2 separate regions of the Homo sapiens genome follow, and region 1 is linked to region 2. The links are contacts of gene promoters, found by promoter capture Hi-C in human tissues and cell types (Jung and others, 2019). All regions are on one chromosome and are shown on one strand. The core of a region is centred on a gene start or on the middle of the fragment in contact, and the rest is flanking DNA. Distances in the headings are between cores, read along the strand shown. Region 1 overlaps LSM12 (LSM12 homolog). Region 2 holds the start of DUSP3 (dual specificity phosphatase 3).

Region 1 (5,496 bases), core at 261-2,760, 280 kb after region 2:
CAAAAAAAAGAATTCCCCCTACTGCAACCCTACTGTCCTCTCTCAAGCTTCCTCTTACATGCTACTGCTGGAGATAGAAATAAGACTTCTTAGCCTGAAGTGAACTATCATTCGAAAGCAAAACAGGCCAATTTCCAAGAAGTTGCTAGTTTATACCTTCCCTAGTTGAGCTATTATTAAGTATTTCCTGTATAAGCCCTTCTCTTCCATTTCCTGCTAGGTCAGAGTCAACAAATATCCGGTTTTTATCAACAGGTTTAATTAAGCAGATCACTTACTATGTCAGCAAGATGGGCCAATATGTGATGATACCTTTGACTAAAGTTAGAGTAGGCCGGGTGTGGTGGCTCAAGCCTGTAATCCCAGCACTTTGGGAGGCCGAGGCGGGCGGATCACAAGGTCAGGAGATCGAGACCATCCTGGCCAACATGGTGAAACCCCGTCTCTACTAAAAATACAAAAAAATTAGCCGGACATGGTGGCGGGCGCCTGTAGTCCCAGCTACTCGGGAGGCTGAGGCAGGAGAATGGCATGAACCCGGGAGGTGGAGCTTGCAGTGAGCCGAGATGGCGCCACTGCACTCCAGCCTGGGCGACAGAGCAAGACTTCGTCTCAAAAAATAAATAAATAAAATAAAATAAATAGAGTAGGCTAGTGCTTCTCCAGACTGCAAGCAACTGAAACTTCAACAGTTTTCTTCCAGACATCCCAGAGTACATTAGTTCCCTTCCATATGCTTAAATGATCCTCCATCTTAAGAAAAACTCAAGTCCGTGATCTTAAAAATGAGACTAACTTTTCACGTCATTCATGCAACATGTTAATAGCTGCCCGAAATAGCTGTTTTCAGCAGTAGCCCAAAAGGCTCTCTCTAATTCTAAGTCAATCTCCAAAAAGGAATCGCAAAGCATCCTAAAAGGTTGATTTCAAGGGAAAGCCAATATAGCTTACTCATAAACATCTCTGCAAACGGAAGAATGAATAAACGAAATCCAAAGATAACCCTCCAACCTAATTTTAGTTTTTAGTTTCTGACTCCTCTTCCCAGCAAACCTCTTTCAAGATTTGGCAAGCAGGCCACAGAGTAAGAAAAGTAAAGATTTCTGGTGTTCCCCAAGCTATTACTTCCTGCTGCTTTCCTCAAAAACTGGGTAATCAGCTAGTTTACAACAATGCTAGTAAACAAGGAAAACCCTAAAGGCAAAGATAATCCACAAACTAACCAAGAGCTATATCTACCTGAGGTCAAACATAAGAAGAGAACTGCTTCTTAACAGCTCCTGCTTAACAGTCCCATCCACACTACCCCACCCCCTCTAAATGGTGGCACTCATTGGTCACAAGAGCCAACTTTCTAACTTCAGAAAATCACCTCTCTTTCAGATCTTTACTACTCACTAAAGATCTAGTGACAGACTTATCATACCCTATAAACACCAAAAAATAACTCAGAGCCTATTTGGTTCTTTAATACACTAGGAATAATGCTGGGCACAGTGGCTCACGCCTGTAATTCCAGCACTTTGGGAGGCTGAGGCGGGCGGATCACCTGAGGTCGGGAGTTCGAGACCAGCCTGACCAACACGGAGAAACCCCGTCTCTACTAAAAATACAAAATTAGCTGGGTGTGGCTGTGCATGCCTGTAATCCCAGCTACTCAGGAGGCTGAGGCAGGAGAATCACTTGAACCCGGGAGGCGGAGGTTGCGGTGAGCCGAGGTTGCACCATTGCACTCCAGCCTGGGCAACAAGAGCGAAACTCCATCTCAAAAAAAAAAAAAAAAAACACCAAGGAATAAATTATTTAACAAGTCTTAAAATTTCATGAGCTTATAGAAGACACTCAAAGAGCTCCTATACTCTGGTAGAAGGTATATTACTAAGCCAAGGTTTCAAAAACCTATAAGCTTCAAAGAATGGGACATCCCATACAAGACAACACCCATATGAACTCAATAGCCTTCCAAATCTGTCCCTGGCCATCACTAAAAAATGTGTGGCATTTCCCTAGAATCTGACAAGATAGGAACTCCAGATCTGAGGTAACGACATTCACTAGCCTCAGCATCAGTTACCCTCTATTATTTTAGTTGCCTAAGTGTTTCCTTGCTTTGCTGAACTGTACAGAACACACCACATTCCCAAGAGAGGCAAAGTAATACACATTATTGCAAGATTCCTCTAGAGGGAAAAACTTCCACCACATTAATTCAAGAGACTTAATGAAAAGCACCTGCTACTAAAATTGGAGGCATCTTATTCATCCAACAAATATTTATTAAATACTCTGTGCAAGGCTCTGTATATTCAATAGTAAATAAAATAGGTATGGTCCCCATCCCTGCAGAATAAAGTTTAGTGAGACAGACACTAGACAAGTAAACAACTATGGCCAGGAGCGGTGGCTCACGCCTGTAATCCCAGCACTTTGGGAGGCCGAGGCGGGCGGATCACAAAGTCAGGAGATCGAGACCGTCCTGGCTAACACAGTGAAACCCCGTCTCTACTAAAAATACAAAAAAGTTAGCCGGGCGTGGTGTCGGGCGCCTGTAGTCCCAGCTACTAGGAAGGCTGAGGCAGGAGAATGGCATGAACCCGGGAGGCGGAGCTTGCAGTGAGCTGAGATGGCGCCACTGCACTCCAGCCTGGGCGACAAAGCGAGACTCCGTCTCAAAAAAAAAAAAAAAAAAAAAAGCTATGAATAGGGTAACCTAATCTATACCTGTTGTCCCTGTGTAAAATAAAAGCATTCCCCTTTACTCTCAAAAATGTCCCAGGTTGGACTACAAATGATATGGTCACCTTAACTGTGAAGGACAAGGTACTATGAGAGAGAATAATGCAGGCAAATTACTTCAGCCTGGGTGATCAGAGAAGACTTCTTGGAAGACGTGCCATTTAACTGAGTGCTGATGGGTGGTAAGGCTCCAGTCATTCTGGAAGGAAAAATGTTCCAAGTACAGGGGACAGCACAGGCTATGACAGGGCTTGAGGCATTATTATGATCAACTTCAATTTTGACTAAATAAACGGAATTGTCAAAAAAGTGACTTAGGGCCGGGCATGGTGGCTGACACCTGTAATCCCAGCACTTTGGGAGGCTGAGGCAGGCAGATCACTTGAGGTCAGAAGTTCAAGATCAGCCTGGCCAGCATGGTGAAACCCCATCTCTACTAATAATACAAAAATTGAGCCAGGAGCAGTGGCTCACACCTATAATCTTACCACTTTGGGAGGCCGAGGCAAGCAGACTGCCTGAGCTCAGGAGTTCAAGACCAGCCTGGGCAACAGAATGAAACCCCGTCTCTACTAAAATAAAACAAATTAGCCGGGTGTGACAGTGTGTGCCTGTCTCCAAAAAAAAAAAAAATTTGGCCAGGCGTCGTGGCACACACCTGTAGTCCCAACTACTCCAGAGGCTGAGGCACGAGAATCACTTAACCTGGGAGGCGGAGGTTACAGTGAGCCGAGATCGCGTCACTGCACTCCAGCCTGGGCGACACAGAGAGACTCTGTCTCAAAAAAAACGCCGGGCGCAGTGGCTCCAATAAAAAGAAAGACTTGGGCAGGCATGGTGACGCATGCATGTAATCCCAGCTACTCAGAAGGCCGAGGCAGGAGGGTCACTTGAGCCCAGGCGTTCAAGTTCAACCTGGGCAACAAAGCAAGACCCTGTCTCACACATACACACACAAAAGTGACTTGGGGGTTCCCAGAGATCAACTTTTATGTGCAAGATTAAAATATGCTAAGCATGTAACTGTTAGAACTCAAAATTCAAACATAAAGACAAAAAAGAACCTTTAAGACAGTGGCTTTCAAACTTTTCTAAGTCATGAAACCCTCCGAGAATCTGAAAAACACTTTAGATCTTCAAGCAGAAAATGCATATATTCACGTATGCACACATCCACATATACACAATTTGAAGACATTCATAGGTAACGCCACCACCCAAACCCCAGCAGCACTATTAGTTCATCATGAACTCCAAGATTTAAAAAGTCCTCTTTCATAAAGGCAGAAGCAAGCTCTCAACTTATTTGGGAGTTAAGCTACTTCTTAAGATCTACTGATAACATCCAGGAATAAAGAGAAAAACTAAACCTACATTTTTTAAAAAGATATCAGAACAAACAATTTTAAGTCAATTTTAAAAAATAAAAAATAGACAACAATGTATCACTAAGACTCAATGAGACTCATCTTTCCCACCATTTTAGAGAGCCAGATCTGCCCTTGAGTCCTTACCTTACTAACATTGAGTGAAGCTAGGGGAGGAGGGGTTTCTGTTCGGTCATTAATTATTTCCACTTCTGAAACATACTGTAAGTTTATGAGCAAGATGTCTGCATGGTTGGGCTTTCCACTGGAAGAGGGACATTCTGGTGAGAAAAAAAAAAGTTAAGGAAAAATAGGACAAGCAGAGGCACTGACACATCCCAAAAGGGGCATAGAAAACACGATTCACACAAGGCTTGTAAAAGGCAGGCCAGGAGCATGAGGGCCTTATAAGAATCACGGTTCTCCTCAGGAAATCTCTGCCTGTCACCTTCCTCCTGCCCAAATCCTTGGAAGCTTCCAAAGGAGTTCTGTCACTTTCTCTCTACTGGCTTTATGGAGAGGCATAATGCAGATTTAATGCGTTTGTCTTGAACCTATGAGCCAGACAAAAGAGCTAGACCTTTCTGTTCTTCGTATAATACTCTCTGTGTCTGCACAGTATTCTTTTTACTCTTTCAGATGTGAGCTTTCCCATTTTGCAGAGGAGAAAACTACACACTGGAAAGGAAATTCACCCAAGGTGACCCAGCCAGTTAATCCATTCATTCATTCACAAACTCATTCTCCAACCATTTAAGAGCCTACTGTATGTCAAGTAAAAGTTGAGTAATTCAGCCAGGCTCACGTGATGGCTCACGCCTGTAATCTCAACACTTTGGGAGGCTGAGGCGGGCAGATTACTTGAGGTCAGGAGTTCAAGACCAGCCTGGCCAAAGTGGCAAAACCCCGTCACTACCAAAAAAAAAAAAATTAGCCGGGTGTGGTGGCACATGCCTGTAATCCCAGCTACTCTGGAGCCTGAGGCAGGAGAATCACTTGAACACGGGAGGCGGAGGTTGCAGTGAGCCGAGATGGTGCCACTGCACTCCAGCCTAGGTGACAGAGCGAGACTCCGTCTCAAAAAAAAAAAAAAAAAAGTAATTCCTAGTTACAAGACCCTTCCAACTAAACCACTAATGTAAAAGGTCTTATTTCTTCCAGGTGTAACCTCTTATTTTTTTAAAAAAGCAACTATTCTTAGGCCGCGCGGTGGCTCACGCTGGTAATCCCAGCACTCTGGGAGGCCGAGGCGGGTGGATCACGAGGTCAGGAGATCGAGACCATCTTGGCTAACACGGTGAAACCCCGTCTCTACTAAAAATACAAAAAATTAGCCGGGCACGGTGGCGTATGCCTGCAATCCCAGCTACTCGGGAGGCTGAGGCAGAAGAAT
Region 2 (6,022 bases), core at 1,326-3,825:
TCCCGACATCCAGCCCTGCTCTATCTTCCACCTCACTCTGCCCCTCATGCCCACATCTGCTGCAAAACCCCCAAGGCCTGGCACATGTGGCTCACACAGGCTCTGGCTCTGCCTTGTGAGGACGTGGCTGCGGCCCTGATTTTGTTAAGGGAATGGAGCCCAAATCCTCTTGGTGCTTGGTGCTCACTGATCCTCCCTGTTGAGGAACCCCCACACCCCTGGCCAAGTCAAGGTCAGAGGTGCTTAGAGGGCAAGGGATGTATTTTCTACAGTGGCCATCAGCAATTGCCACTCTGGCTACACCAGACGTGTACAACCTTGGTTTCCACTTGGGAAGTGATGACAGCTGAATGGCCAACCTGCCCAAGCAAGCGGGATTCCTGAGGCTAACAAGGCCTGCTTGCTGCTTGGTGCAAGAGGAAGGGTGTCTCTAGAGCTTTCCAATTCCTGAAGCCTTTGGCTGACACTGTGGGACTCTGTTTATTCCTGCTTAGGACACCGCGCAAGACTGTGAAGCAGTGGCTGATAGAAAAAAACACTTTGAAGAGTCACTCCCATTCATCTCCCTTCTCTAATACTTTTTTTTTTTGAGATGGAGTTTCGCTCTTGTTGCCCAGTTGGAGTGCAACGGTACGATCTTGGCTCACTGTAACCTCCACCTCCCGTGTTCAAACGATTCTCCTGCCTCAGCCTCCGGAGTAGCTGGGATCACAGGCGCCAGGCACCATGCCCAGCTAATTTTTGTATTTTTAGTAGAGACAGGGTTTCACCATGTTGGTCAGGCTGGTCTCGAACTGCTGACCTCAGGTGACCCACCCGCCTCGGCCTCCCAAAGTGCTGGGATTACAGGCGTGAGCCATCGTGCCAGGCCTCTAATACTATTAATAATTCAACATTCAAAAAATTTACAATTATCATTATTACTATCTCTACTATGAATGAACATTGTACAGTGCCTGACATAAAGCAGGTGCTCAGACTGGTGAATGAATGATGGAATGGATGAGAACTGTCCCCATGAGGCTGGGGCCTGATGGACCCCTTCTAGTTCCATGATGACCCCCATTTCCGTGGCAGTCCTTGGCAGGCTAAACAGCAGGTCATAGCGGAGGTCAGGAAATACATACATGAACAAGACATTGACCCTGTCCTTGTAGTCCCTCACACACTCTGAGCCACCATTTCCTCCTCTGTAAAATGGGAGGAGGGTTAGTTTTGAGTTTTCAACATGCCATCCTTGGGCTGAGCCATGAAGCTTAGGATTTTGGTAACTGGGTCCTCAGAGTATCGTGAAAATCCAACTTGAGGCTTTCCAAGGCTGTACAGGCATGCTAATATATTCTTTCTTGAGGCTCCTATTTCACATCTCAGAATGTTAACACTGGTTCTTTCCTGCTGATTAGACATTCTTACTAGAAAAAAAATTTAAAATTTAAATTAAAAAAAATCTCTTACTGTCCGGGTGCGGTGGCTCACGCCTGTAATCCCAGCACTTTTGGAGGCCGAGGTGGGCGGATCATGAGGTCAGGAGTTTGAGACCAGCCTGGCCAAGAGACCAGCCTGGCCAATATGGTGAAACCCCGTCTCTACTAAAAATACAAAAAGTAGCCAGGCGTGGTGGCGGGCGCCTGTAATCCCAGCTACTCGGGAGGCTGAGGCAGGAGAATTGCTTGAACCCAGGAGGCAGAGGTTGCAGTGAGCCGAGATCTCGCCATTGCACTCCAGCCTGGGTGACAGAGCCTGGGGGTGAAAGGTCAAGAGCCTTTTCTAGGTGGTGGCTCAGGTCCTTAGGGGGGTTATCACTGGACCGTTCTAGAATCTCCTGTAAATCAAATCACATCTGGAAGGTGGGGGCCTGGAAATCCCGGCCCAGCTCCCCGGACTCGCTCATTTGGGGTGTTTAGGTTCCCTGATCCGGGACTGCCGGGCCGGGAAAATTCCATGCCCGAATTGTGACGTCGGCCCGTTGCCATGGCGGCGAAGGCAGACATTCCGCGGTGACCTCACTGCAGAACCAGGCAGCTGTCACATGACGCGCGGGCAGGAGACCGGCCGGGCGACCGAGGGTCACCTGTTAAGTGAACATGGTAGCCCCGACCCCGCCCAAGGCCAAGCCCCAAGCGGGTGGCGGCTGGGACCCGGGCAGGCGCCACCCGGGCTCCGTGCACCCCGCCACGGGGAAGGGCCGCGCCCGGCCAGGCAGGGTTCCAGTTCCTTGGCCCCACGCGCGGGGGTAGGCGTCGACTCCAGGCCCCTCCCAAGCCCCCGCTGTGGCTCCCGGAGGGGCCATCGCGCCCGGGCTCCCCCAACCCAAGACTCGCGACACCCCGACCCCAGCCTCGGGTGGGCGGGGCGTCCCGAGAGGGACGGCGGGGCCGGGCTCGCGAAAGGGACTCACGCGTTGCCCACGTAGATCCGCGGGGTGACCTCGTTGCAGGGCTGGCTCGGGAGGCTGTAGCAGCCGCTGCCGTCCGAGAGCAGGTCGTTGAGATCCTGCACCGAGAGCTCGAACGAGCCCGACATGGCGGCGGCGGGGCCCTGCACGCCCGGCAGGAGCAAGCGAGGCGGAGAGCGGCGGATCAGCTGGGCGGGGGCTCGCGCCGGGAGCCGCCCCGTCCCGCCCCTGGGGCGGGCCCGCCGGGCTCCGGGAGCTGCGGAGCGCGGGCGCCGTGACGCGGGGGCCCCGCGCGCCACTCCTGGGCGCGTCCCGGGGGGAAGACGCCACCGCCCTGGAGTCTCAGGGGTCCTCGCCCCATCCCGGTCCAGGCCGTTTGTGTATCTTTGTAAACTGGCAAGCGCGGTAACTTCCTTCCCTGAATTAAATGCAGGGCCCAATAAACATTTCGTGGCGGAGGTACACCTAGGGGTCGCTTCAGTCTTTCATGATTACAGGGACCGCCGGGTTCGGCTCGTGAGCGGCTCCCTGCAGTGGAGGCACCACCCGGGCGCTTGACAGAATCCCCGCCCCAGCCCAGCCCTGCTGGATCAGAGTGGACATTTTACGGACCCCAGGAGGTCCCTACGGTCAAAGTCTGAGAAGCCCTACTCTGGGGCGCATCTGCTTTCAACATTCATTGAGAGTCATCGTCGTGCTTAAAAGCAGTCAGGTTTGGAATTCTGAGGAATTACTTAACCTGAGCCTGTTTGCAGGGAAAAAAAAAAAAAGCGGGATAGTAATGGTACCTAATTCTAGGGTTGCTGGAAGGGTTAAATGTGACATTCAAAGAAGGCACCCAGCACTGCATGGCGAGCACTCAATAGGTGTTAGTCCTTCATCAACAAATGCGTTGAGCACCCAGTGGGTGCTATACCCTGTGCTGGGGTGGAGATAAATCAGACTCCTGCAGCCCTTCCTGGAGCAGATGCCAGCCCACCATAAGCCACTCAGCATTTCCTGAACTCCCACTAAGTACAAAAGATAGTCTCTGTACTGGAGGAAAGCTGCCCTCCCCTACTGCCATGAAAAACTGGCAGTTTCCTTCCTGCAAAAGGGCAAATTTGGCCTTGAATTCAGGAACCCCACATCCTGAGCCCAGCCCTGCCACCAACTTGGTTCTTGAGTAACGTTGCTGCTGCTGTGGTCTTCAGTTTCCTCATTTGCAAAAGGAATTGGATCCGATTATCATTAGGGTCAACTTTCTCCTCCTCCAAAACTTGTGGTCTTGCACCTTCAGGGGAGCTATTGCAGTGGAGACTACTTAGCTGATAGCCCAAGATGTGTAACCAAGGCTGGAATTTCTGTATCCCTCACCCCACCCCGTGCCTGCCCACCCCTCCCGGTGCACCACTTCTTTCCTTCTGGTGTTGGCTGGCAGCATCTGCATTCTAAGCAGCGGGGAAAGCTTTCGAGTTCCTTGACCTTCATCTTGACTTGAGCCGAGGTTAGCATTAAAAACACAAGCCCAGAGGCAGCCAGCCATGCTCTGCTGCTCCTACTCCCTTCCCGGGACCTGTCCCTGATGTCATAACTGGGTAACTATGACAGCTTGTCATGGGGACAGCTAGGCACCTCACAGAGGAGTCTGGGTACCTCATTTCTGAAGTGAGACTAGGAAGAGAAGATGAACAATTCCCTGGATTATCTGGCCTACCCTGTTATCGTCTCTAATCACAGGCAAAGCACAACCTTCAGAAAGAAACTGGACTTTGGCCACTACGTATCTCACAAGAATAGAATACAAATAGGTATGTGGGCAGTTTGGGCTGGACACTGCTATTAGGGATTTTGGAATGGTACCCCATAAAGAGATCAACAGGAAACCAGACCAGGTCACAGCTTTGGGATGATATGGCCTTATCTGCTGAGTTTGGGGAAGAGGGCATTAGCACCAATAACAAAATGTATCTTCCACCAGGGAGTTCACTGGATGGAAATACTCCTTTAAACTCCTTAAAGCCGAAGTACGTTAGAAAGGGGATAAGACTTCAGAAGCCAATAGACAGGCTAATAATATTGGAAAAAGATTGGAAGAGAAGCTCTTTCATTGGATTAGAAGGACATTTATCTCTGTAAATTTTATTTTCACTATTCTTTTGTTTCTGCTCAAAACTCTCCAGAGATGTTCATTTGATAAATCAAACCAAACTTCTTGAGTCGCATTAAGGTCCTAATTCGAAATTGTTCATTAGTCAAGGACATTGTCTAGTGCTGGTTTTCTGAGGCCGCTACTGGAATTCCTGTGATGTAACATTGTTCCCTTTTATCCCCCTTCTCTAGCGAAGCCTACTGTTGATACCAAACCTCCAGTGGCGCACACAAATCACATTTTAAAATTGAGCAAACTACAGGTATTTGTTCTTGCTGCTTGCAGATGTGCAGATGTATTTTATTGACTTCCAGTCTGTTTCCTAAAGAGGTTCAATTTCCCAGAGCCTTCTAAATACCCATCTACTCAAAGATTTGTTAATACTCCTCCTCCCCACGCGTCACCCCCAGTCGTTTTTTTCCCCCCTGATACGGAGTCTCGCTCTGTTGCCTAGGCTGGAGTGCACAATCTCGGCTCACTGCAACCTCCGCCTCCCAGATTCAAGCAATTCTCCCGCCTCAGCCTCCAGAGTAGCTGGGATTACAGGCATGTGGCACCATGCCCAGCTAATTTTTCATATTTTTAGTAGAGACAGGGGTTCACCATGTTGGCCAGGATGGTCTTAGTCTCATTACCTCCCGCCTGCCTCGGCCTCCCAAAGTGCTGGGATTACAGGCGTGAGCCACCGTGCCCGGCCGCCCAGTCTTTTAAGTTCTGCTTCCAGTCTCCACTGTGGCCCTCAATGCACCCCTTTCCCACGATCTCAGAGGAGGGGAACACTAAGTCATTGTGTGTTGGGGCAGTGCACTGATGGTGTCACCATGGTGAGGTGTGGTTTCTTACCAGGGTGAACAAAAGAAAATCAACAAAATCGAGTATGAAAACAAGCAACTGTGTCAGAAAATCGCAAATGCCCATCGCGGCCCTGCCAAGGTGGATTGCTGGAATGAATATTTTTCCAAGAGGTAATGTTCTTTGTCTTCATTTCAGTTTTGAAAAGTCAAAATTGACTTTCCTCTTGGGTTTTAGTGTGAGGTTTTCCCAAGTCAGAGAAGTACTTAAGGGAAGTTATCTTGAGGGAGAACCAAACAGACCATGTTACACAGAATGAAAACTTTAAAAATGGGGACCTTTCTCTAGCATTAAAGAGCTTTTATTTCATCGAAGAGACTTTTCAGAGTCCTATTCAGTGTGTCACAAGAATGCACTGCGCACTTTTATAAAATGGTGGCCATGTGTCTTAGTCCATTATAGGGCGCTATAGCAAATTGCTATAAACTGGTGGCTTATAAACAACAAAAATTTCTCATAGTTCTAGAGGCAAGGAAGTCCAAAGATCAAGGTGCCAGTAAATTCGGCATCTGAGGAGGGCCTGCTTCATAGACAACCATCTTTTCACTGTAACCTCACGGGGCAGAAGGAGAAAGAGGCTTCTTTCATAAGGACACTAATTCCATTAGGGTGACCTAATCAGCTCTCAAAGGCCCACCCCCTAA

Evidence for each region. The method cuts DNA at HindIII sites, captures the fragments that hold promoters and counts their contacts. A contact is called where the count stands out against the background at its distance.
Region 1: a contact is called between a fragment that was not itself captured here and the fragment with the promoter of DUSP3 in region 2, in 1 of the 25 tissues and cell types used here (dorsolateral prefrontal cortex).

The regions. Positions count from the first base shown.
Region 1 is chr17:44,059,551-44,065,046 of GRCh38, forward strand. It overlaps LSM12 (LSM12 homolog), which reads right to left. Exons shown (of 5, transcript NM_001371445.1): 2 at 4,251-4,384. Among named protein-coding and RNA genes, the nearest start is that of LSM12, 4.4 kb to the right of the region's middle. The HindIII fragment of the contact is 3,461 bases long and covers 1-3,241 here.
Region 2 is chr17:43,776,402-43,782,423 of GRCh38, forward strand. DUSP3 (dual specificity phosphatase 3) reads right to left here and starts at 2,576. Exons shown (of 3, transcript NM_004090.4): 1 at 2,399-2,576. The coding sequence starts at 2,523. It overlaps CFAP97D1 (CFAP97 domain containing 1), which reads left to right and starts at 4,034. Exons shown (of 6, transcript NM_001136483.3): 1 at 4,034-4,185; 2 at 4,718-4,788; 3 at 5,373-5,491. The coding sequence starts at 4,062. RefSeq lists an enhancer at 1,840-2,134 and a silencer at 2,067-2,756. The HindIII fragment of the contact is 3,419 bases long and covers 2,549-5,967 here.